Regions from separate parts of the Homo sapiens genome. Here regions 2, 3 and 4 are each linked to region 1. The links are contacts of gene promoters, found by promoter capture Hi-C in blood cells and fetal thymus (Javierre and others, 2016). All regions are on one chromosome and are shown on one strand. Each heading gives the region's core, a stretch centred on a gene start or on the middle of the fragment in contact. The rest is flanking DNA. Distances are from core to core; before and after follow the strand shown. Region 1 holds the start of GPR180 (G protein-coupled receptor 180). Region 2 overlaps GPC5 (glypican 5). Region 3 overlaps GPC5 (glypican 5). Region 4 overlaps GPC5 (glypican 5).

Region 1 (6,841 bases), core at 2,345-4,844:
AAAAGATAGGAAAGGCCTAACATTCAAGGCCTGTGTTATGATTTCTCTTCAGGACCAGTTTTATTCCTGTCCTTGGTTTACAAATACCACATATATTTGTGGTATTTGTAATACCACATATATTTGTGGTATTTGTGGCTTACTTGAAAGGATTGACCCTAAACTCTTAAAATAAGTTACCTTTAGGGATGAGATATGGGCAGGGAAAGGAGGAAATGGGGAGTTTAATTTTTACTTTATATACTTTTGTTTTTTTGAGACAGTCTCGCTCTGTTGCCCAGCCTGGAGTGCAGTGCCACAATCTTGACTCACTGCAACCTCTGCTTCCCAGGTTCAAGCGATTCTCCCATCTCAGCCTCCAAGTAGCTGGGATTACAGGCGCATGCTACCACACCTGGCTAGTTTTTGTATTTTTAGTAGAGATGAGTTTTCACCATGTTGGCCAGGCTGGTCTTGAACTCCTGACCTCAGGTGATCCACCCACCTCACTTCCCAAAGTGCTGGGATTACAGACGTGAGCCACTGCGCCCAGCCCACTTTATATACTTTTGACTGTGAATTTTTTTCTGAGACACATGGATTACTTGCATAATAAAGAATCCTTGCAGTTTTTTTTTTTTTTTTTTTTTTTTTTTTTGAGACGGAGTCTCGCTCTGTCGCCCAGGCCGGACTGCGGACTGCAGTGGCGCAATCTCGGCTCACTGCAAGCTCCGCTTCCCGGGTTCACGCCATTCTCCTGCCTCAGCCTCCCCAGTAGCTGGGACTACAGGCGCCCGCCACCGCGCCCGGCTAATTTTTTGTATTTTTAGTAGAGACGGGGTTTCACCTTGTTAGCCAGGATGGTCTCGATCTCCTGACCTCATGATCCACCCGCCTTGGCCTCCCAAAGTGCTGGGATTACAGGCGTGAGCCACCGCGCCCGGCCGCAGTTTTTTTTTAAAAAATCCGAAAATATTAATACTTCCAGCATATTCCTGGTCAGCCAGAAATACTGAAAATGCTGTGTATATGGTAGGAGGTGGTTCCTCAATATTTTTTTTTTCTAAATGATGAGGTCTGTTATGAGAACTTCCTTATATGTTATAGAAGCTTGTTGTTAAATGAAAATAATTTATATACATTTATTCATGAAATAATTTTGAGCTCCTACTTTTGTTACCAGTGGAGGGTCTTGACTGCAAGTTGTCCAGTTTCTTGGCATTTTGAACAAAGAATTGGACAAAATGCACAGCAAAGCAAGGCAAGAATGAAGCAACAAAAGAATGAAGCAACGAAAGAACGAAAGCAGGGATTTATTGAAAATGAAAGTACATGGCCGGGCGTGATGGCTCACACCTGTAATCCCAGCACTTTGGGAGGCCAAGGTGGGTGGATCTCTTGAGGTCAGGAGTTCGAGACCAGCCTGGTCGACATAGTGAAACCCCGTCTCTGCTAAAAATCCAAAATTAGCCAGGTGTGGTGGTGTGCACCTGTAATTCCAGCTGGAAGCTGAGGCAGGAGAATCACTTGAACCTGGGAGGCGGAGGTTGCAGTGAGCCGAGATTGTGCCACTGCACTCCAGCCTGAGTGACAGAGTGATACTCTGTCTCAAAAAAAGAAAATGCAACTACACAGCGCAGAAGGGCCTGGACACATAATCATCTTGGGTCCAAATACTCCCTAGAAGTTTCCCATTGGCCACTTGGAGCTCACCTCATATAAATGAAGTGGTGGCCCCCAATAGGTCTGATTCTTGGGGAAAGCAATGAATCAGAGGCTGAAGTGGAGTTACAAAGGTCACACTCCTGTGCAAACATCTGATTGGTTGCAAAAAGCAATGTTACAGAGTTACAAAGTTGCACTTCTATGCAAACGAAGACTCAGCTGGCAATCAGTCTGACTGGGTAGGGACAGCCAATTTCTTATCTGCCTCACAGAAAAGGTGGGGATTTGCAAAGGGCATAGCCTCTGGTCCTTTTGTTACTTAGGGTGGAAAGTTAGGGTTTTCCTTTAATAGTTCTAGAAAGTCGGTGTAAAAACGCCTTAGGTTCCCTCACCCCAGGCCCTATTCTCCTGCCTCACTTTCATTAAGACAGGTATAGCCAGCAAGGTGGCTTACGCCTGTAATCCCAGCACTTTGGGAGGCCAAGGCGGGCAGATCACCTGAGGTCGGGAGTTTGGGACCAGTCTGATCAACATGGAGAAATCCCATCTCTACTAAAAATAAAAAATTAGTCGGGCATGGTGGCGCATGCCTGCAGTCCCAGCTTCTCGGGAGGCTGAGGTGGGATAATCGCTTGAATCCGGGAGGCAGAGGTTGAGGTGAGCCGAGATCGCGCCATTGCACTCCAGTCTGAGCAACAAGAGTGAAACTCCGTCTCAAAAAAAAAAAAAGTGTAGTCACTGACCAGCTGGAGCTGACAATAGAGGCGGAGATTTCAGACACATGAATGGATACTTACAGTACAGTGCGTGAGTGCTCTGGTAGGGAAGTAAGGGATTCTGGTTCCAGGGGCATCTACTACAGACTTAGGGGTTTGAGAAAGGCTTCTTAAAGTGCCTTGGGAAGGAGGAGTAAAGGAGGAAAAGGAAGGTGAGGAGGTCCAGTGTTGGAATAAGCAGAAGTATTCTAGCCAGAGGGATCAGGGAGTGATATAGGCCTAGAAGGGAGAACTTGGGAGTGTTCAGGAAACCAACGGCGGTAAGGATGGAGATGAGAAAAAACAGACATTTGAGAGTTGAAGAGCCATATTCTAGAGTTTGGGTTGTGTGCTAAAGGCAATTGAGAACCTTTCAAGGCAAGTGCAGCAAATTGTTTCCTACAGCTTTCTGTGGCTGTAGGGTAGAGATGGATTGTAGCCAATTAGAATGAAGACTGTAGAGACGGTCTTTGCCATAGGCCAACAAAGTGATGAACTGAGTAGGACTGTGGCCGCTGCTTCCCACCCTCACCAGAAGAAGGGCTAATCCACACTTGTTATTGAATTGATTGAATTGCGGGGGGGGGGGGGCCTACAATTCCCAGCGGTCTGGTCTGCGGGCGGGGGTGGGGGTGGGGGTAATGTAATTCGAGAAGCCAGAGAACCTAGGAGGGAAAAATCGGCTGGAGATGCCAAGAGAAGGCATGCGTTAAATTGTGGTCATGCGGAGCTAAGTGTCTTTGAGACATTAAATCGGACACGTCCTGTAGGTTATACAGGCGCCAAGGAAGAAAATCTGCATAAGAACACAGTTTTTTCTTTGCGGGAGTTTAACTCTCTCGGCCAGAAACAGTCCTGTCCTGCATTTCTTAAGTTTTTTCCGAATCCCACAAGCCCTTCGAAGGCCCCGCGGACTCGTGCCAGCGCGCCCGCGCATGCTCAGTAGCAAGACGTGCTAGGCAATGAGGAGGGAGATGAGTTTTCCGTAACCTGAAGCAACATCCTCCTGATTCCTCATTAAAGAAAAAGGCGGGAACTAGTCAAAAGCCGGGGACTGATGGGACGCTAGGATCTGCGCGTCCCGCCCATTTCGGCCTCTGACTGGTGAATGTCTTCGGCTTATGGCAGAGGAGCCCGCCTCATTGGCTCTCAGGCTCCAGAGCAGCAGGTCTCCGGCGCCCACCCCGCCTCCCCCAGCTGCCGACGTGGGGCGGGCAGCCGCCGGCGGCTGGGAGCCGAGGCGTCGGTGCAGACCTGGAGACGGGCATGGGGGGGCTGCGGCTGCTGGCTGTGGCCCTCACGTGCTGCTGGTGGCCGCAGGGCAGCCAGGGTAAGACCCTGCGGGGCAGCTTCAGCAGCACCGCGGCCCAGGACGCCCAGGGCCAGCGCATCGGCCACTTCGAGTTCCATGGTAGGTCTGGGGGCGGGGAGGGGGATGAAGGCGCGCTGGCCCATCCCGCCGGCTGAGTCCGCCGGCCGCTCCTCCCGGCCCCTCCCTGCCACGTTGGGCGAGGCCGGCGACTTCCCCAGCCTCACCTGGACCTCCAGCGTTGCAGCAGCTGCCGCGAATGGTGGGATGCGTTCCTTGCCAACCCCGCTGGTGCGGCTTTCCAGCCCCAGGCAGCGGCCTCTCGCCACTAGTGATCGTGTTCCGCACCTGAAAGCTGGTTTCCATTTCCCCAACCCTCCCCTTGGAAGCCAATGTGCAAAAGACTGGTCGGCCGCATCTTTCCAGATCCTTCCCGCAAAGAAGCATATTTGCTCCTTCCTGTCTCGGCCACACTGTGACGGGAGAATTTAACCCTAGAAACTTAAATTTCCTTTTTTTTTTTTTTTTTTTTAAAGACCAATTTCCTGAGACCTACTTGCAACAGAGTGGTTTTGGAAACCAAGTAAAACACTTGATAATGTAGTTGTTATATTGAGCAGTTTGGTTACTTGGCTACTAGGGCAGTAGATTTACTATGGGCAGTAAGGCCTAGAATTAAGCTGATGAAAATGCATTTAAGTAGCATCTTGGAAGCTCCCTAATTTGTGTTCTGTGTGGCTCTTCTGAAATCAGAGTTGCGTTTGATTTCAGACCTTTTGGTCTTCCTCAAAAATCAGTAATTATTCCTTCAATAAATGCATTTGCAATTCATTCTAATTTTGGTCTCATTTGCACTCTCACAATTTAAGTGTTTTTCTTGGTACTCTTAATTTGACTAGTGCTGTATTTCAAATAATTATTTGCCTTGATGACATTAGGAACTTTGATTTGTACAGTCTTTAGCATTAAAAGATGCAACGATGAACATCAGAATATTGGCCTAGAAAATATTGTTAGGAGAAGATAATAGAAACGGAACTACTTTGGTGAGAAAAGGAATTTAAAGTATTGGGAAATTACAGAATTGACAGAATAAAGGGAAGGGATCCTGATTTTTTTTTTTTTTGAAGTTTTTAAGATAGCTAAGAAAAGGAGTTTCAGTAACCCAGTTTTTCAAAATCCAATGTGGAATATATTTTGGGTGAATGAAGAAGAAACACTAGAAACAATTTTATTATTTTTTGTAACATTTTGAGTTTCTCATTCAACGGACTGTAACCATACTTTGAGTATTGACAGCCACTGTCTTAAATGGCACAATGTGGACAGTGTTGGAAAATGTGGGATGTATAGAAGACGTGGGTTATTACTTAGGACCAGCAGAGAGACTTGGACGACCTCATAGTTCCTGATGATCATCTGGTAAACGTGGAGGAGAAACATGTACTAAATTCAGATTTCTCAAGACAGATTGGGGATAAGGTGTTTCAAGTGCGTTCATTCTGTTTCATATGTGTAAAATCACATATAGTTATTACCAATTTTCATGAATCCCAATTCAGTAAAATAATAATACAAAAACTATACTGAAACAATGAACTGTAACTCGGAATGCAATTTACAGTGTCAATTGGGCCTCAGAGTCACTTGTAAGACTTCAAAATATGTAATCAATTTATGTAAGAGACTTGCACATTCTTTGATATATATACTGTATATTTAAATATATTTAAAATGTTTAATCAAAGTGGTAATTATAGTAATAAAAGCATAGAAAAAAAATTTCCAGGAGAATAGAAGATCTTAAAATGAAAAACAGTCTCCTGTCTTAGCTCTTTCACCCAGAATCCCTTTCCCTAGAGGCAATAACTTACTGCCATTTCTGTTCTGGGCCTTAAATGTAGTTGGTGTGTGCAACCAGGTTCATTCTGTATTCATCTTACAACATATATTATTCTGAAAGTTCTTTTTTTTTAAAAAGGAAGCCAGACTCGTTGGGTGGCTCCTGCCTGTAATCCCACCACTTTGGGAGGCAGAGGTGGGCAGATCACTTGAGGTCAGGAGTTCAATACCAACCTGGTGGCTGGGCGTGGTGGCTCACACCTGTAATCCCAGCACTTTGGGAGGCTGAGGTGGGTGGATCACCTGAGGTCAGGAGTTAAAGACCAGCCTAGCCATCATGGTGAAACCCCGTCTCTATAAAAATATAAAAATTAGCCAGGCATGATGGCAGGTGCCTGTAATCCCAGCTATTTTGGGAGGGTGAGGCAGGAGAATCGCTTGAACCGGGGAGGCGGAGGTTGCAGTTAGCTGAGATCGTGCCATTGCACTCCAGCCTGGGCAATAGGGCGAGAATATGTCTCAAAAATAAATTAAAAAAAAAAAAAAAGACCAACCTGGCCAACATGGTGAAACGCTGTCTCTACTAAAAATACAAAAATTAGCTGGATGTGGTGATGCTGGGTGTGGAGGCGCATGCCTGTAATCCCAGCTACTCCTACTCAGGAAGCTGAGGCAGGAGAATCAGGAGAATCGCTTGAACCTGGGAGGTGGAGGTTGCAGTGAGCCGAGATTGCGCCACTGCACTCCAGCCTGAGTGACAGAGTAACACTCTGTCTCAAAAAAAAAAGAGTTTTGCTCTGTCACCCAGACTGGAGTGCAGTGGTGTAATCAAAGCTGACTGCAGCCTCAGACTCCTAGGCTAAAGCCATCCTCCCATCTCAGCCTTCTGAATAGCTGAGACTACAGGCTCAGCCACCAAGCCCAGCTAATTTTTTTTTTTTTTAAATAGCAACAGGATCTCACTTTGTTTCCCAGGCTGGTCTCAAACTCTTGGGCTGGGAATCCACCCACCTTGGCCTTCTAAAGTGCTGGGATTACGGGTGTGGCCACTGTGCCCAGCCCCTGAAAGTTCTTTTGTAAAAGTCGTAGATACCAAATTTTGTTTTAGGTATAATATGTCTACCCCAGAACACATACATTTAAACTTTCCTGCTATTAGCTATGTTTATTTTTTATATTAAGAGTATAATTAAATATTAACACCTATGTCATATTAAAAAACAGAAACTTTGGTGGGACATTTCTATAGATTATGAATAAAATATAAAATGTGAAGTGGTTGTAAAGTGAG
Region 2 (6,841 bases), core at 2,773-5,272, 2.4 Mb before region 1:
TGATTTTTTGAATACACAAGTGGAGTTTGTATTTAATTTGCTGGGCAAAGAGGAATGATTAAAGCTCTTCTATGTGGTCATTTTGTTTGTGCATTCATTTTTACCAGCAATATAGTGAACTACTTAAGATTAAAAAATACACACAATAAAATTAGTATATCTTGAACAAGTAACTTCTCTCCTACCTTGTACAAGTTCTGTGCCTAGATTTCCTTAAGACCTGAATAAAAGCAGGACTCTTCAAGTGATTTTTTTGTGAAGATTAAGTGGTTTAATCCATAGTCAGCATTCCAAGAGTGTCTACCCAACTCACACCTGTCCATTGAAATAAAAGTATTGGATAAAATATGTAAAAGGTAGTTTTTTAAAAATGCTTCTATAAATTAGTAATAAAGGAATGTTTGATAAAATTGGGCTAACATGGTGAAACCCTGGCTCTACTAAAAAAATACAAAAAATTAGCCGGGTGTCGTGGCGGGCGCCTGTAGCCCCAGCTACTCAGGAGACTGAGGCAGGAGAATGGTGTGAACCCGGGAGGCCGAGCTTGCAGTGAGCCCAGATCGCACCACTGCATTCCAGCCTGGGCGACAGAGTGAGACTCCATCTCAAAAAAAAAAAAAAAAAAATTGGGCAAAGTACAGGCAGAGGCACAGATAGTGGTAGATACAGTTATACACACACATAATTTAAGGAAAATAATATAGTTGTACCTAACCCTCCACCGAGTCCAAGAAATACAACATTTCCATGGCCCTATAGGCCCCTCTCTGAACACATTTCACTGAACAGAGAGTTTGCCTATCCTGACCATAACTTTTATAAAAAATACAGTTTTAACCAACAGTATGTGCATGCTTAAATAATACTTGTTTTTTCTGGTTTTTGAATTTTATATGAATCAAATCATACAGTCTCTCTTGTCTTGTTACTCCTTTTGTTAAACAGTGTGGTTTTGAGGCTTATCCATGCTGATGGATATAGGTGTACTCATTTAATTTCTCTTTTGCTTTCTTTCTTTTTTTTGAGACTGAGTCTCTGTCACCTAGGCTGGAGTGCAGTGGCGCAATCTCAGCTCACTGCAACTTCCGCCTCCTGGGTTCAATTCTCATGCCTCAGCCTCCAGAGTAGCTAGGATTACAGGCATGTGCTACCACACCCAGCTAATTTTTGGGTTTTTTGTACTTTTAGTAGAGACAGGGTTTCACCGTGTTGGCTAGGCTGGTTTCAAACTCCTGACCTCAAGTGATCCACCTGCCTCAGCCTCCCAAAGTGCTGGGATTACAAGCATGAGCCACCATACCCAGCCTTCATTTCCTTTTACCAAAGTATAGTATTCTAATTTATGAATACATAACTCATTTATGTATGTATTTTGTTGATGAATATTGGAGTTGATGTCAATCAGTGGCATTTGGTACGATATGAACAATGTTGTTCTAAACCATCTGGAAAGTATCTCTTGATATACATGTGCAAGAGGATGCAGGATATCTTAGAAGTAGCAGGGCAGTGCCACAAAACAAAAGATTATGTACAGCTCTACTAGGTATGTGAGCCTGCTTTGCAAAGCAATTGTACCAATTCATATTCTCACTAGAAATGATGACAGTTTCTACTGCTCCCCATCTTTGTAGACACTTTTCTTCACGTTCACTGATTTTTCATATTCATCTAAAGGATAGAAGTAAAACAAGTAATTAACTTCTATTTCCCTCATAATTAATTGGATTTCACTTTTTAAACAAGTATATGACAAATTTTTGCTTCCTTATCTGAAATTTCAGAAGAAAGAAATTTAGCCCCTTCCCCAGTATTACTTTGTTTTTGTATTGTTGTAAAGAAGTATCTAAGGCTGGATAATTTATGAAGTAAGGAGGTTCATTTTGGCTCAAGTTTCTGCAGGCTGTGTGAGAAGCCTGGTGCAAACATCTGCTTAGCTCCTGGTGAGGCCTCAGGAGGCTTACAAACTGGTGGGAGACAAAGGGAGTGCCAGTGTATCACATGGAGAGAGAGGATGGGAGCAGGTGCCACATTCTTTTAAACAACCAGATCTCTCATGCATTCAGAGCTAGAATTTACTCATTATCATATGGAGGGCACCAAGCCATTCATGAGGAATCCTTCCCCATGACCCAAACACCTCCCACCAGGCCCCAGCTCCAACACTAGGGATCACATTTCAACATGAGATTCCAACCTCCAAACTATGTCACCCCTTTCTATCAGGTTATTACTTTTTTCTTTGGCAGATACTATCAATACAAAAGTCAATTTCAGTGATCCATTACTTCTTTTGGTTGTGACCTCAGGAAGGGAAGGATAGATTCTTGAATTTTTCTTTATTGAACCAGTTTTCAAGATAATAAATTGATTCCCTCCCTTTCTCAGAAGATGACCAATTCTTTTATATACATTTAAATGTCATCATGAACCCAGTTTTAAAAACATTTGTAATTCTTATTTTTACTGAAGTTCTTACTGTCTCACATTTTGCCAGCTGGTACCTTTTCCATTTGCCTTTGAGTCCTTTGAGATGACCCTTAAAATACTTACTAGTTTCTTTGCCATCTGGTATACTTAGATGTACTAAGCTCAGCTTATCCATTGTCACAAACCTGGAATGAGCCATTTTTACATGAGACTTTATTTGTTTTACTGGGAAATGTCATTTCATGACTGCAATCTGAGCACTAATGATGGCTCTTAGAAGCATAGGTGATAATTAAAATATTTCATAATTTCTCACTTTATTCCACATTAAATATAACACATTATCTGAATAATACTAAAACTGCCCTTACGCATTATGATTACTAAAATTAGCTAAACATTTTTGTATGTATTGTCTATTTTCTCTCCCCATTCTATGGTTATACTAGAGATACAGAGATAGTGTCAGGTCACATATCATATCTGCCACTTAGCTCTTATTTATTGTAACTATATAATGCTCACTATTTGCTTTTATATCAATATCTCTCTAGTGTATTCCTTATAAAGGACTCATGGGGACAATATTTTACGAGTTCTTTTATGGTGATGAGACTTTGTGTCCTTTAGTCTTAAAAATTAATTTTGTTCAATACAAAAATGTTAGTTAGCTCACATGTTCTTTCCTTCCATTTTTTTTCAATAAGCTCTGCATTTTCTGGTAGAATGCATTAGTGGCAAAAATTATAATGATAATCTGTTTTTCTTTCCATTATTAGCCACTTGCTTTTCTCCCCTCAGTGCACAATGATTTGTTTTCTGTTTCTTTAAAGTACAGCAATTTTACTAGAATGTATTTTGTGTTGGTAGCTCTGAGTTGGTATTCCAGTTGCATAGTGTACTTTTTCAATATGTAATTTTAAATATTTTTCTAGGAGGCTTTTATTGAATTATGGTTTTAATAATTTGTTATCTTCTTTTAACTTTCTTCCTCAGGAGCACCTATTTTTCGTTTGTTGAATTTTCTTTATCTTCAGCTTTTTCCTCAACCTTTTTGATCTTCGCTCAAATTCTTTTGGATTGGAAAAATTCACCTCTTTACCTTCTGTTTCTCTTAAGATATTATTAGTGGTGCTTTTTTGCTTTTGCATTTCTGCACATTGTATTTATTTTTGAAGGAATTTACATTCTTCTATTTTTTTGAGATCTCTAACTTCTTTCCTGAAATTTTCTAATTCTAGTTTATTTCTTTGTGTCTTGTATCCCATGCTTACTGCCTTTTAGCTCGCTTTGAAGTGCTATATCTCATTTTAGTCTGTTTTTGAACATCTTGATTGTGTGCTTACTATGTTTGCAGAGATCATAACAGAATATGCAATATTTATGGTGATAAATTTTTGTGAGATTTGATCTCAAAACATTTGTTGCTTATTTTATGTTAATATAAATTCCCTTCATTTTTAGAATAAAGCTTTGTTTCAATAGCTTTTCTAAATCTACTGAGTTTCCTGTTCTGTTCTCGTCATGTAGTGTCAAAAAATATGGTGGCTTGTTTTCTAAAATTTCTGGTCTTTTTCTCTCCCCAGTGATTATTCATATCTTCTCTTCTTAACTTTCTGTTATTCTTATCTCACTATTTTTTTTCCACTTTCAGCAGTTACTCTTGTATGTGGAATCCCCTCATCCTGAATGGTAAGAAAACTTGGCAGATTTTAAGCTTCAAGAGTTCAGCAGGTTTCAGAGACTTTATTTCCTTTAGCCTTATAACAGAGCCCTTGCATCCACCCATTATTAGTGTGGGCATAAATGTTCACAGTTCTCTGCTGTTTTCACATTGATTTTCAATAAATCCTGTGGGTTCTGTTGTTTTCATGGCTTTAACTTGCTGCATTGCTTCCCTCTGTTTCTTCTGCACACATGCTGATAGTGTGTAGATTGACCATTGGTGGTGTGCTCTCTCTCATTTCTGCTTTGAGGTTAATGAGGATGACATTTTGACTGAGTTTTGTTTTATTTAATTGGCAAAAACCATAATTACTTTTGCACCAGTCTAATAAATGGTATCCATGTGATTTTAATTTTGCTATCAAGTTAGTCTTTTCATTTTATGTAAGGATTTCTGAATGTCCCAAAGCTATGTTGCAACCACCACTGCTATCTTACGTGAATTTCCCAATCATTTTCATTTTATAAGTAAATAAAATATAGCATAATAGATGACACCTTGATGCTCTTCCTTTTTGATCCTTTCCCCCTGATTTACATATATATGTGTGTTTATATATTGTAATTATATAGAATTACTATTTTTAATATTAATATTAAACAGCAGTGTTTTTAAAATGTATATGCCTCCAATTTGTCTTTCTGCTGATAAAATAGACTTTATTATAATTGATGTATGAATATACCACAATGTATTATCTATTATTTCCAATTTTAATGAACAATGCTACAAGCAAGCCTCTCTGTGCATGAGTATGTATTCCATTAGGTTGCAAAACTAATCTTCAAAGTGATTATATTAATTCATACTTGCACCAGCACTCCAAGTAGACTATTTTTGGATTTGTACCATAATTTCATATCCTCAGAGTTTTTAATTTTGCTGAATTTTTAAAATGTAAATGGTAAATATCTTTGTGTATATGAAAGAAATTGCAACAGATGGAATGAAATAGGCAAGGAAGATGTTCATTATTCAAGATGATTACAGTAGGGGAAAGAGAGAGAACTCTCCACTGAACCAAAAGATGAGATAGTTTTATGCACCTGGGAGAGCTAGTGAAAAAGTATTTGGCCGGTCTTAGGAGTGAGCTTGGTCAATGTGATTAGGTCATATGTGTTTGCTAATTGGTATTTATGAAAGTTAGGCTGCTTCCCTGACATAGAGACTGGGAGATAGGGGTTCTGTCTTGATGACTACATCTCATAAAGATGGCTCCTTGAAAAAGAGAATCCTGGCTTTTGAAACAGGCAAGAAACTGGAAGATTTAAATCTCAAATGGGAAGAGAAAGAATTTACAATTACAAATGTTCTAAAGTAAGTGCATTAAGAAAAAGAAGTTAGGGGCTTATGTTAGGAAGAAACATGTTTAAAATTTAGTCAACATAAAGGAAATGCAAAAACTGATTCTGGTGAGGTTTATCGTTATTTTTTGTTTAATGACCATTTTGTGTTTCCTCTTTTGTGAATTTATTCCCCTCCCCTTTTCATATTTTATCACTTGGTTGAGTTAAACTATCTCATTATATACCTAACTAGTATTTTCTCAGCATATGAGTTGTGAGAAATCTCACTGTTTCTGGTGTGACTTTTAAAGATGTATCCCAGCTATATACTCATAAATTACAGTCTAGAAAGGGAAATAGGTATATCAGTAAATACATTAAAATGAACTGTAAAAAATACATAAAATTGAGAAATATGAGGAATAAAGAATACATAAATAGTAGAGAATGATCCATTATATGGGGATTTTCTTAAGAATATCATCTTAGAAATTATAGCTGAGCTGGGTTTCAATAGAGGACCAAAGATAATCAGATGGAGAGTGGACTAAAATTCATGACAGACAAAGCATTTACCAAAGTACAGATGTTTCAAGTATCAGTGTTTTCAGGGAAGCTCAATGTTTGCACTCTTCCTGGAGCACCACTTTTGAGGAAGGAATGATAGACGAGGCTGAGAAAGCAGTTGGTGGCCTCTACAATGCAGAAGCCTATATATACAGTTGTCCTATAGAGCCGTTTAGACTTATTCTGAAAAGAATGGATTTATTCAACTGAAAAATCTACAAAGGAAAATTCATACATTCAAAACACAATGCCCAAATAATACAAGAAGTTCCAGTGATGTTTAGATAACAGTTAGCTCTAGGTCTTCATTCAATACGTCTAAAAATAAACCTGTCAACTTTCCTCTCAATTCTTTTCAGTTGTTCCTTTTTTTTTTTCTTCTGACAACACTATGACTCACCATCCTCCAAGACAGAAACTCAGGAGTCATCTTGTGTTCCTCCTCTCCCTTCACGCCCCGCATTTAATAAGACCCATTGCCTTTACTTCTAAATTTCTTTTCTTTCACATCCCCACTGCTACTATCTTAGTTTAATTCCTCAACATCTCTTGCCCAATTGGTCACATTGGTCTCTCTGCTTCTGTATTGTCCATCTCTACACTCTTGGTGAAATACTATTTTAAAACTGTTTTTTGCTGAGATATGGAAACTCCAGCCATCATGTAATCTTTTTAGGCAGAGCGGTCCTCTAAGGAGAGGAGGCTGGTTCGGTATCAAAATTTATGAACTGTTGAACAATAGCTTTTAGTTATTTGCCATTTCAGACAACCAATTTCAATTATTCTGAAGGCACCCAGATGCTTTTGACCAAACTAAACTCTTTCATTTTCT
Region 3 (6,841 bases), core at 1,663-4,162, 2.4 Mb before region 1:
CCCTTCTCAGCTCATCGCAACCTCTGCCTTCTGGGTTCAAGCGATTCTCCTGTCTCAGCCTCCCGAGTAGCTGGGGTTACAGGGATGCGCCACCACGTCCTGCTAAATTTTTTTGTAGTTTTAGTAGAGACGGGGTTTCTCCATGTTGGTCAGGCTGTTCTCAAACTCCCGACCTCAGGTGATCAACCCGCCTTGGCCACCCAAAGTGCTGGGATTACAGGCGTGAGCCACTGTGCCTGGCCGAACTTTGATTTTTTCATTAGAATTTCTGGAAACATTATTTTATTATATGTTGGCATATTAGTGAAACATATATTTATTAACCTGTTTTCAGATTTAATGGTGACCCTGTATGTTTGTTTCTGTTTATCGATATCTAGCTATAGTTATGTTTACATCTATACCATATTTTGTATCTATACATATATAAAAGCATCTAAATAGGGCTTGACACCTAATTGGAATTCAATAAGTGTTTGCTTCTTTTCTGATTCTAGATTATGTCAAAATTTAGTAGTGCGTTCTAATAAAGTTGAAGAACATTTGAATAGGAGGTTATGATGACATCACTGTGATGCCTACTGCTGTAGTCCAGCTATCTAAGAGCTGAATTGCTTTCAGTTTTATCTGCGGTTCTAAAGTTGGTGGGCGCCCCTTTGGAAACGTTTACTGAACTCTTGGTACAGAGGCCACTAGATGGGGCTTGTGGGCTTAGTACTTTATAGTTTAGAAAAGTCACTTAAAAAAACTCAGACTTCTCTTTAACCTATTCTGTTCTTTATTAACTGTAACACTGTGAGCAATTATAATTAGAAATCTTTTTATATTAGCAAGTGTGAAACCTAACTATTGCCCTTGCAAATATGTGATATTCCTCAAAGAAAAAAAAAACATCTCCCTACAGCCAGGCACATTTATCTCTTTAGAGGCTAAATACAAGACCCCGTTACCAATTTAATAGTAGTTTTCAAACCTGTCTCCTCATATAGAAGAATCTCAGATACAGAATCCTGGAAGCTCTGTTCCTACTTTTTAGGTTTCAGATTCAATGGTGACTCTGTATGTTTGTTTCCATTTATCTATATCTAGCCAGAAACATGCTTTACCATTATCATGAAGTTTGCTCCTTACCCATTGCTAGTGTTTGTTTTCCTCTAAGACAGTGGTTCTCAAATTTTAATGTGCATCAGAATCACCATATATCGTGAAGGACTTTAGAAAATACAAATTACTGTCCACAACCCCAGAATTTCTAATTCAGTAAGTCTAGGATGGAGCCGGTGACTCTGAATTACCAAAAAATGCTCAGATGATGATGGCACTGCTTATCCAGAGACTACACCTTAAGGAGTTCTGTTGTATGCTAAGGCTCTCCCTGGATAAAGTACATACCTTTCATGAGGTAGCCCTTGTGTCTCAAGACAGCTTCCTGTCACACTGCAACATTCATCTCTCCAGGCACTGAGACTGGGACAAGGACGAGAAGTAAGTGGTGGTTTGTGTTTTCTTTGCATTTATGCTCCTAACCACTGGGTACACAGCACACTAAGTTAGATAAGGTTCAACCTCAACAACAGACCAGGGGCACCTGTCTGCATCTTCTAACAACCAATAGCTAATGCTCATTTGAAAAAAAATAAATGAAGGGTTTGACCCAAGGCATCAAAGCTTTGGATTCTGATTTTCCTTTGTCTCAATGGCTTTTAGATTTCTAAGACCTCCCTTTCCGTTTCTCTCCATCTGACCTCCAACCTTCCCCAGATTCCTAATCCCACCATTTTTGAACCTCCCTCCAGAGTGCCTGGAGCTAGGCCCAGTGGTTCCTCACCTCAACGGCCACATCCAAGCACTTCTCAGCCCCTAGTTTACTGATTTCCAGCACACTACCAGGCACCACTTTACCTTTACTGGAGACCTAGGTATACACTGCTTCTTTACATACTGTATCTACAGCTGGATAATTCAATTCTCCATCTATTTATCCCTTCATCAGTCATTAACTACCAATGATATAACAGGCACTGCTTCACCCTGCCACTATGCTATAGTTGTAAACAAGCCAGACATGACCTCCCATCTTTTGCTATTTCCGTCATTGTTTTGACTGATCTATCTTTTTGGATTTTGGATACCCTTATTTCCATCATTGTTTTGATTGATCTGCCTTTTTGGATTTTGGATACCCGTTGTTGTCACCAGCTTGTTGTTTTGCATCTCAGTTAACTTCTTGGCTTACAGACCCCTGGCTTCTGAAAACCACAAGCTTTCTGGCTTTTACACGGCATCTCAACTTGTATCAGAACATGTTGTTTTCTAGCCCCTTAAGCCAGTCTAGCCTCTGGCAACCTGAGCATCTTCCCCTTGTCTGACTTTCATCATATCTGCTGGGCTTCTGCATCTTCACTGTTAATGTAATGACAATGCCTTAAATTATGTGGATTATATTTTCAAAGGTGTGTTAGCGTATCCCATCTCACTTTCCTTATTTCAAATGATTAACCTATCTTGATGGAAAGTTGATCTTTCCAATGATTTCAAATATGTACCTTCATATAATTTTTATATTTTTATAATTATACAAATTACTTACATCTCAACCTTATAAAGCTCTTTTTTGCTCTTTTATATTCTAATAACAGAATAGCCACTAGTATGTTTTTTGTGTTCTTCAGAATAACCTAGATCAGATATGCACAGTCTCTGATTAAAATGATTTCTTGCATCCCAGAAGCTTCTGTATTATGTCAGCAAAATTGTGTTTATTTCACAGGCTCTGTCTGATAAATATTTTTTGTGGTCTTCATGTGACAACACTGAATAACATGCCTAAACTCAGCCTCCTCTTTTAAACATTCCTACCTTGAGAAGACTAGTGACAGAATAGCATCCACAGTACTATTTAGTTTAAATTAATTACAACAAAGCTCAACGAAAATTGGCTTCGATATACCATTATTTTTCTATTTTCTTTCAGTTCAGGCATTATATATAATTAAAGATGCCCCAGTATTCTACTTGCAGAAGTCATTTGCTAATGAAGGGGAAGATTACTGGGAATAGCATAAAAAGTTCAAACCACCAATAAACATTTCTGGAAGCTTGGAGCTGAAAGACTGAAACTATTCTGGCACATGGAAGTTTTACCAAGCTCTTAACCTAATTATATTCCTGATACGAGTTAGGCTCAATTTATTCCGAAGGGATGCCGCAAAGGGAAGCTTATCATGAATACTAAGGGTAATAGAAACAATTGCTTCAGTGAGCCTAGTACTGTCACAGCAGGCGCATCAGAACAGATGGCTCTGCGTTTATTCCAGTCTAGGGATTCAAATTGGCAGTAGTCAAACAAAAATCCTGAAAAGCATGTCAGCAGATGTGGATATGAGTTTTCTTTATTTAAAGAGCCATTCATACCATTCCACTGAAAATGCATATAAAACTGGAGGTATTTGCCACTTTGGTTAATTTGCCTATTAGTGCCTTCAACTTGTGGCCCATCATTTTAATATATATATTTATATATAACATATATACATATATACCAGCAGTATAGTAATTTCTGATATATACTATTAACCTCAAGTTACTATATATATACTATTATTAAATTTTTGTATAGTGTTTGTATATTATATATTTATATGCCAGCTCCTTAAAATGTGTTAATATTATATATCAACAGTTGCTAATTCCTTACATTAATATATGCTATTTTGCATCTTTTGAGTCCAAACTGCTACCAGCATAGGAATTTTAACATTTTCTTTAAAAATAAACTAGTTTAGCCTGGGCACGGTGGCTCACACCTGTAATCCCAGCACTTTGGGAAGCCAAGGTGGGCAGATCACAAGGTCAGGAGATCAAGACCATCCTGGTTAACATGGTGAAACCCCGTCTCTACTAAAAATACAAAAAATTAGCCAGGTGTGGTGGCCCTGTAGTCCCAGCTACTCAGGAGGCTGAAGCAGGAGAATCGCTTGAACCCAGGAGGTGGAGGTTGCAGTGAGCCAAGATTGCACCTCTGTACTCCAGACTGGGTGACAGAGCGGGACCCTGTCTCAAAAAATAAATGAATAAATAAATAAACTAGTTTATTGTATTTTTAATAAAGTATCCTAACGTAGACTATTAGGATTCTTCATGACACCTGAAATGTATTGTCATCAAATGACTACACTTGTTCATTAGCATCTTTTTCTCCTTGCACAATGAGTAATTAATAGTTTCTTTGGGAGTTAAGTAAAAACGAACTGACATTTTTGGGCCAAGAATCCTAAATTAGCTCTGGGGTAAAACAAAAACTCTTACATACTCCTCACCACCTAAAAAAATTTTCAATTAAAAGGAAAAAAATAAAGGATAATATCCTGGTTTATAATCTTGTCAAACTGGAACTATTTCCAGATGAGCATGGCCCTCTTTTTCTTTTACAGATGACACAGCTAAGTGCAGATGCCTAAAAGGAAGGGTTTCTGATGACTTTGTTTTCTCAAGATATTTACATAGTCTGAGCTTACTCATGAATTGTGTTACCATGTTAGGTTCAACAGCTAGGCTCTGACTGAACTAATTTGTCGTGGTCTCTCTGTCCACAAGAGTTTGTCAAAGTAACAACTCACTATGCTATTGAACTAATAACTTGGTCACAGTGTATCTTTTAACACCTAGAATTCTCTCATCAATGAGTAGGCATAGCACTTGCTCATAATCTTCGTAGGCTACTTCTAGCTAAATGATAGATTACTTATACTATAATGTTATATTGCCGAATCTAACATACAAGAAAAATATTCAGGGCCTAGTGGCTTTTTTCAGTTTCATTATATGCTTTTAAAACTTTGATGATTTATATGATCATAGAACTTTCTGTTCTGGCACATGGGAAGATTGAATTTTTTAAAGCAAAGTATTTGTACAGATTAAACAGATAACATTTGACATCATAAAAGGATAATGAAAACGTATAGGTGAATTAACTGAACTTTAGATGGGGAAAGATATCAGCCTAAATTTAAACAAAATTTTATGAATATGATTTACTACGGTTTTTACTGTGGACAAACAATGTAGACTATGGACTTCGGTTTGAGTCACAAGACAGGCACAATGGATTCCACTAATCTCTCAGTTGTGGTGGAATAAACTACTATAACAAATATGCTCAAATGTTTATTTTTTAGCATTCAAGGCAGGTCTTCTTAATTGGCAGTTTTTCTCCATGTGGTGGTCCAGGATACCCAGCTTATGCATGAAAACTGCAGGTTTGGTTGAAAAGTCCCCACAGTTAACCTGATTTATACCACAGGGCTAAATTCCTTTTGTTTAAGGCTGCAGTTTAAATTAGCTTTTTAATTTCATTTCCAATTGTTGGGTTTCTGCACAAGAAATTCCATAATCTTTAAAGCTGCATTTTAACAAATGGGAAAATAATATCCAATAAAACAAAAGAAAATTGGAAATAAGATATCACAACAACAATTTAAGCTGGATTTTCTCTTTGTGAATGTGTATGTATTTGTGGAAATAAAGAGCAGAAGTAAATTCTCCAAATGTCAACAGTGGTCACCTTTAAGTATTATGGTTATGGGTGATTTTTTTTATTAGTACAAACACATTTATTCATTAACCAAAGGGATGATCCTAATTAATCCAACACTTTGAAATAGCTGCATGTAAAATGTTTGTGATAAAGATCACTGAACACAGTAATGAAAAGAAAAAAAGCAGCCGTATGGAGATTTTCTCATTCAACTGAGCTTGTTCATTCTCCTAGCTAATTCCTATCCAAAGTGATGATGGAATTTTTATTCTACTTTTTCATAGCTACAAGTACAGCTGACACTGTTCATGACACCGTTCACCACTAATTTCCCATCTTTCAATTTTCTTGTTAATTTTCTTTCCTTCCCATCCCAATCCTGATGCTGAACCTCTGCACCAGCTGTAAAATGGTTACAGGTGATTTTCATTGTCCTATCACTACTTTCTAATTGTCTACAGTGAGTAGATAGTGCTTTTAAATGAGAAAAAGGTGCGTGTAAAATACACCTTCAGCTACTAAAATTGTATATGAATTGTCTTATTAAACTTATCACCTTTCTACACACCAGTTGCCAAAACAAACAAACAAACAAACAAAAATCAATTAATCCCCACTTGCCAAGCCTGCCTGGTTGTGAGCTACTACTCTTTCCTGATAGTCCACAATAGCTATAGCCAGCCTGGTTGTGGGCTACTTCTCTTTCCTGATAGTCCACAATAGCTAGTCTTTAAAGTTTTCTTCAATAAGTCCTGACTAGAAGGAGAAAAAAAAATTAAAACTACTCACATGATATCATGGAGATGAGCTCAGACAAGAAGATCCACAACATATAATTTCTTGCTACTAAATTAAAGTAAACCCAAACAAGGTACTATCACTTTTAATTTATTCTCAGAATGTAGTTTGTGTTTGGGGAAAATCTGACTAATGAATGAATAAAATCAAGCAAACAAAAAATAAATAAAATTTCCCTCTTGGTATGCTAGATAATTAATGCTTTGAATACATGAATCATTGCTATATATCATGCTAAGTGCTATGTAATGTTTTAAAAATCTTCAGATAGTACAATTTTGCTGGGGTGATATTGTTAAGTTTTAATATTTTAAATGTGCACATGTGGATTGTGTAAATGATAATGTGTATTATTAGGATTTAAAGTTAGAAGATTTTTTAAAGTAAAGCCCTAAAAGCAACTGAACAAAGAAAGCAAAACAGATACATAACCTACTAGAAATGAGAGCTCAGATTTCCTGACATCTCAGTTTGATGTTTGTGTATTGTATCCCATTGTTTCTC
Region 4 (6,841 bases), core at 3,208-5,707, 2.4 Mb before region 1:
TAACTACACTGCATTCCCACTCATATGCTTCTACTGACACCACGTATGTAAATGGGTCAGTAGCCATGGTGAAGTTAAGGACACAAGAATAAACCACTGATTTAGAATCATAACTGAAGCTAGATGACAGGGCACATGGCAAACACGAAATATCTGGCAAGGTCAGTTTTGATGAACAGTGACTGTAATAAACTCAAATGATACTTCATTTAGAATAAGTTATTTATATACTTAATAAAAATCATTATAGCCTTTAATTACTTAGGTTCATTTGTCATTAACTTTATCCCGGGTTTTCACTGATCTACCCATTCATCTACTCAGCATATACTTATGTGCTCACTGTGTACCAGGACTCAGAAGGGGGCTCTGAGAGTGACCTGAAGAGTGAATAGGGGTTTAAGGAGAGTGTAGCACTTTTAACAAGGAGGCGCAGGCCCTTTGGCATGGAACTGCCAAGACTTTCAGGGTCTGAAAGAGAGCCAGTTGAGGCAGGCGCTCAGGGCAAAGTGGAAGCACAGCGGAAAACTAATTAAAGTTAATTTTGCTTTTCATTAATATTATCTTCAAAATTTACATTTCTATGTGTAATATTTATTGGGAAAAAAGATGTATCCCCTTGAAAAAAAAGTAATGCTACATGATATGCTAACAATGAAGTACTAAGTATCTATATAAAATAGTTTGAAAACTTTGAAAAATTAATATCAATTTTACAGCCATTTATGCTGATAGCACCTGATATTTTATAAGATTTAATTAGACAGATTATGTTTTATTTTAAAGGTATGTACTTCTTACACAGGAATATGAATAGAAATAAAGATTTCTATGTACAAAGGCACTTAATACATATATTTAATATCTATTTTAAATTTTAATTGAAATGGTTTTTTAAGAGGGAAAAGTCTAGGTTTCATTAGCTTTTTATTGTTCTATATTTAATCAGCCCTAAAATATAATTACAGCCCTAGAATATAATTACTGTCAAATGAAAGCTTTATTATAATCTAACTGGCCCCACTAAAAATTTTAGTCATGAAGTCTCAGAGAAATTTCACTTTTGTTTGTAAAACTTTTCCTATGGCCCCTCTGTTCACAATCCAAAGGCAACATTTCTCTAGCTGCTCAGCTATTCTGTTTTCTGCTTTCTAACATGCCAACATCAAAAGCTGTAACTCTGCCCTTTTCTCTTCGTATCCATGTCAGACGCAGGGTAACTGGGAGAGCTTTCAATATCAACAGCAGCTCATCTTACTGATAAACAGGCGCAGACAGAAGCAGATGGTTTCTAGGCACAGAAAGCAGTGGGTGAAAGTGGTACACTCCCGTTTCTATCTTCAGAGAGTGTAAAATATTTTATCCTGAATGACATGCTCCTAAGTTAAAATAATATTTATTTGGGTAGGCCTGCTATACAGGAAATGTTAAGATACCGAAAACGGTACACTGGAAACAATATGAATCGTGCAACAAAAGCGAGTGAACTCTGAAGATGAGGGAAGTGAGTCGCACCACAGACAGCAGTGGGGGATAGCAACTCTAACAAAGTCTCCGCTCCTGCGAAGAGCTCATTCAAGCACCTCCCTTTTAAAGGGTATTCCTAATACCCTTTGGAAGTTTCTTCTTCCCTTCACTCACAATTTCCCTTCTCTGAGGTTCCAAGGATGTGAAAAAAAAATAATAAGATAAAAACCCCCAGACCATAAATTTTCTTACAGACTTCATATAGAGGGATATATGATAGATACAGATATAAATAATATTGACATAAATAAGTGTATCTACATCCGTCTATATCTATAGAACGTCTATACCTATCTATATCTTTATAACTATATTGATCGCTGTAGGTAGATCTAGATATCAGGAAGTAAAAGGGAAGCTGGAAAATATGATTTATATACAAAGATTAAATCTTTGCTCAAATCACTTGAAGGGCAAACCACATATATTTTTTCCTATTGGGGTTTGTTTGAGACAGGGTCTCGCTTTTTCTCCCAGGATGGAGTGTGGTGGTACAACCTCAGCTCATGGCAGCCTCAACCCCCAAGGCTCAAGAGATCCTCCCATCTCTTCCTCCCAAGTAGCCTGAACTTTAGGGCATCGCCATCACATCTGGCTAATTTTTTTTTTTTTTTGTATTTTTGTATTTTTGCTAGAGATGGGGCTTTGCCATGTTTCCCAGACTGGTCTCGAACTCCTGGGCTTAAGCGATCCACCTGCCTCAGCCTCCCAAAGTCCTAGGATTACAGGCATGAGTCACCGAGCCAGGCACCCCATATGTCTTAAGATAAAATCCAGATGTCTTACTGCTTCCCAAACAACTCCGTATGATACCCTACTTCCACCTCTACCACTCTGAGTCATTGCATGCCAACAGTAGTACATTGCAGCCATGTGGGCCTTCTTTTGATTCCCAACATGCCAAAAAAATCCTTGCCTCAAAGTCCTTGCACTTGTTATTTTCCTATTCCTGGAATTCATGTGCCTGACTCTGGACCTGAGGCTTCTTATCTTCTCAGTCTAAAGTCAAATATCACCTTCTCTGAGGAATCATTTCTGACTTTATCTGAATAATTCAGCCATCCCCCAATATCATAGCATCCTATTATTTTACATCAGAGAAATTATCCCAATCTAAAAATGTCTTGTTACATGTTTGTCTATATATTACCTATTTGTATATGATATGTCTCTCCACACTAAAATGCTACCTTCATGAGAACAGCATCCTTACTGGTGCTACATTCCTCTATATCCTTTAACCTAGGATGGAGCCTGTTACTAAGAGATGTCCAATAAAAATTTCTTCTGTTGATAGGTTGGTTGATACCTCATTGACAGATCATAGATATGCTCCTTATTAATTAATAATACTTCTTTCTTAATGAATGATGATTTCCCCACAGCATTCTAAAGTCCAAATTGATGACTTATAGTTCAGATATTTGAATGACCAAATTAGCTCAAATATTATTCTTGCTTCCATCATGAATGTGGATTAATGTGGACTGATGTGGATTAAATGTAGGCAGACTGGCAGTGAGTAAAGTCAGGATGTAGACACATTGCTCCCGTCAAGACTGATGTCAAGAGGAAATCACCAGCTGTCTAGCCTTTGAAGCCAATGGGAAGATTACTTATTGACCTGATACATTTTCACTTCTGATTCAGAGTGGGCATTCGTACAATCTTTGCAAGTAAATTATAGCTATAAAAGGATCCCCAAAAAAATTATTTCTGACAATTTGGGGAGAGTAGGTCACATCTCTATCTCAGAAACCGAGAAATGGTCATATACTAAAATGAGAAGGAAAATGGTGAGTCTGAACCAGGTCTTATTCCATTAATTCCATACTCAAATTGAGACACCATAGAGATAGCAGACACACAGATGATAAGTATTTTTCATAAGCAATATTGATTTTTGTATTTCATTTTTAAAAGTGCTTAGCATTCAGAGGAAGCCAAAAAATACTGTTTGATACTCTTCTATGGAAAAATAATTTGCCACTAACTGACACATCAATGCTACATCAAAGGAAATTACAGAGCGCTCAGTAGTACTAAAGCTAGGGCATGAGGCCCATTTAGAATTGGATTTTTGTTGCCACATAGGTTATTACTTCTGTAAAACATGCATATGTGATCATCGTTTGGTTAGGGAGCAGAAAATAATATTTGAAAAGTGCATTTTTCTGTTTTACTGCACGGACCTGTGTCTTTCAGTCTCCACAATCAGCAACTTCTAGCCTGACCCACTCAATATAAAAAGATATGTAAAATATCTGCGGGTTTAACTTATTCCAAAATCACCCCTTATTTAAGTTGGATGCAAAATTAACAAATTAATAGACTTTTCATTTAATTCCAAAATATAAATGTCTCCAGTTATAGAAAATGGTTAATTCTCAATATTTGAGATAAAATTGAATAATAAAAAAAGATATTTTCTTTCATAAAAATTTAAAGTAGGTTCCATCATTGTTGGAAATAAAATATTGACTTGAAATACTGTCTACTTTCAATTAGACTGTAATTACAAAGAGAACATTGGTCATTATTTTTACACTTTGTATGTTTGGCTATTTTATAGGCAAATATTAAAGGCCCAATATTCCAACACTACTAAAGAAATATTAGAATTGGATCTATCCTGGGACTGTCTTCTGTCCACGCAAGAGACTTGCCCCTTTGAAATAAACCAAAAAAGCATTGAAGTTTTATTTTAAAATTCAGGCAGAAATGTTGACACTGCCTGTATCAATTTAAACACAATTTTTTTTAAAAAAAGCCACAAGAAATCCCTCTAGACTGCTGTATATAACATCGTGTCTCAGGAATTTCTTTGAGAAAATAGGTACAGGTAAAAGCTTGCAATATACATTTTTTAAAATAAAACTTTAGAGCAAGCTGAGGATTACCTGGATTTTGTTAGTATGTCATGCTGAAAAACACTTATACTTACCTAAGTCTTTGCTCAATGTATTTTCATTGAGAATATGAAGCACAGCCATTCTAACTTTAAATTTGGCCAAGCTTTGTTTTGATTATGTAAGAACATACCAGGAAAGGATGACTGTGTACTTTGAATTCATCTTAATTTTCTTTCTTTTATATTTCCCTTTTTCCAAGTGCCAAATAAAATTTTTCTCACGTTTTCTTTTAAAACATGAGTTCAGAATAAAATTAAGAGGAAAAAAATCAATCTCAATGAGTGTTTTATTCACATCTATGAACGCTATTGTGCTCTTACTTGATGTGACTAAGTGACATTTGCTGTCAAACAAAACAATTACGGCTGTATTACCCTTAATCATAAACATTTGCTAAGCACACATTTGTTTTTCAGTAACTGTGTTAGCCAGAGCTCTTTTGGTGGTAAATGCAAGACATTCAACTCGAATGTACTTAAGCAAAACAGGTAATTATTTGGCTCACATAAAACTATACAAGGCCTCAATAAGAGGAACTAGAAAATTATAACAGTTGAGATTCTCCCTACCTCTCATTTTCTGTTATGTTCCAAACAAATTATCTCAGACTGTTTTTTGACAAGGTTAAAAGCATGATTTCAGACATTATCAGTGCTTATATCCTCATACCTATCTAAAAATTCCAGCTTTCAGCTTCATTTTGTAAAACCATGGGGGAGTTTCCAACTGGATTCGATTGGATCATGTGCCCAAAGCTAGACCAATTATTGTAGCTAAAGAATTAGGTACAATGATTGGACGAGCCCTGGTCAGGTGGCATCATTAAATCAAAAACTGTAACTGTGGAGTTAGCTTCACGGGAAAAGATGCTGGCTCCTGTTGTGACCTCAGGGTCGGAGTATGAGAAGTGTATCTAAACTGAAGAATTCAGGACACATTTCCCAGAATAAATTGGAGGAGTGTAGGGAGAGCAACAGACAGACACACAGGCACTCAGACACACACACACACACACACACACACACACACACACGCACACACACGGGAGGTTACGCCTTCTCTCTCTTCCTATTCTTTCATCTTCCCTATCATTAAGGATATACTGAACGTCATCATCTCTGGACTTTAGTGAATGCCAATGGTAAAGATCTGATATTGTTTAGGTTATTCATGATCTTTATTCTGTAAAAGTCTGAGATGCCATTATTTATGCCTTTCACTCTTGAAGAGAAGATATTAATGTTATGGACAAAGATGTAAACTTTACATAAAATGATGGATGAGATGGTTGAAAATGGTATTTCATCAGTTCTAAGTTACAACAGTGACACTTGGTTAAATCTAATATTTGATACATTGCTGTTGGCCGAGGAGCAGCCATGGCACATTGTCACTTCAATTGATGTGCATGGTTGATACTACAAGTGTTGGGTTCAACTGTCATAGAAGATATCTTTAAAACAGGTTACACTATGGTTCAGCATGAAAACAAAAAAATACATATTGTCTTCACAGAAAGTTTCTAGAACACAGCAGTGATGCATGCATTTGATATTCCTGAAGCAAATATTTAGCATCTGAAGAATGAACTCCATTCCATTTTTTTTTCTTTTGGAACAAAACCCAAGTGTTTTAGAAGACCTAAGATAGTAGGATTCCCACAAGTTGATGAAGCTATGCTAGGTTACTGATTCAGGTACAATGCAACTACAGGTGGGGGAGATTGCTAGATGTCTTGAAAGAGACAAAAGAAATTAAAGAACACAAGAATATTGAATGACTAAATTATGTAGAATTAGTATTAAGATAGCATGTGAAACCTTGCCAGGAATTTTCTTTAGTGTACATAAAGCAATAATACATCTGACAATTGATGGAGTCTTTGATGTCAACAAAATACAGTAATAAGGGAAATTGATTTTTACTTCATGGAAGTTACTTTGGCAACATTGTGAAGTAGCAGGATTGTTACAATAGTAATCAGATTACTTAAATTTTAATCCTTGGTGCTATCACCAACTAATTGTGCTGTCTAAGGAAAGTCAATTAAATACTTAGGTCTTCATTTACACTATAAAGATTTTGGACTATAGATTATGTCAGAAGTCAGTCTCAAACATTAAGTGACATGATTCTAGATGAACTAAAGAATGTAAAAATGTTTTATTATTCATTTTAAGAATGATGGTTTGAAAATACTGTAACTGTAGCTTGGTCATTAGTAATTTTCAGAGGCCAGTGTAATATTTTTACTTTCAGTTCTGGAATAATGTATCTAGATCACATACCTAATGTTTCCAGTTGAGATAGATTTAGCATGCAGAACAGGCTATGTTTTGTGTTTTTCTTAACCTTCAAAGTGTTTGTTATTTTGATTAGTGTTTATACATTCAGACAGATTA

What was found. Contacts are between HindIII fragments. The CHiCAGO score rates a contact against its expected background, and 5 or more counts as called.
Region 2: a fragment that was not itself captured here is called in contact with the fragment with the promoter of GPR180 in region 1 in 1 of 17 cell types (M0 macrophages); the score reaches 8.4 in M0 macrophages.
Region 3: a contact is called between a fragment that was not itself captured here and the fragment with the promoter of GPR180 in region 1, in 1 of 17 cell types (M0 macrophages). The highest score is 5.5, in M0 macrophages.
Region 4: a contact is called between a fragment that was not itself captured here and the fragment with the promoter of GPR180 in region 1, in 1 of 17 cell types (total B cells). The highest score is 5.1, in total B cells.

Annotation. Positions count from the first base shown.
Region 1 is chr13:94,598,263-94,605,103 of GRCh38, forward strand. GPR180 (G protein-coupled receptor 180) reads left to right here and starts at 3,595. Exons shown (of 9, transcript NM_180989.6): 1 at 3,595-3,810. The coding sequence starts at 3,666. RefSeq lists enhancers at 3,333-3,627, 5,983-6,482 and a silencer at 3,406-4,005. The HindIII fragment of the contact is 8,659 bases long and covers 1,088-6,841 here.
Region 2 is chr13:92,152,132-92,158,972 of GRCh38, forward strand. All of the region lies in intron 7 of GPC5 (glypican 5), which reads left to right. Among named protein-coding and RNA genes, the nearest start is that of GPC5-AS2, 200 kb to the right of the region's middle. The HindIII fragment of the contact is 246 bases long and covers 3,900-4,145 here.
Region 3 is chr13:92,174,911-92,181,751 of GRCh38, forward strand. All of the region lies in intron 7 of GPC5 (glypican 5), which reads left to right. It also overlaps the pseudogene FABP5P4. Among named protein-coding and RNA genes, the nearest start is that of GPC5-AS2, 170 kb to the right of the region's middle. The HindIII fragment of the contact is 367 bases long and covers 2,730-3,096 here.
Region 4 is chr13:92,195,539-92,202,379 of GRCh38, forward strand. The region is part of intron 7 of GPC5 (glypican 5); the gene reads left to right. Among named protein-coding and RNA genes, the nearest start is that of GPC5-AS2, 150 kb to the right of the region's middle. The HindIII fragment of the contact is 166 bases long and covers 4,375-4,540 here.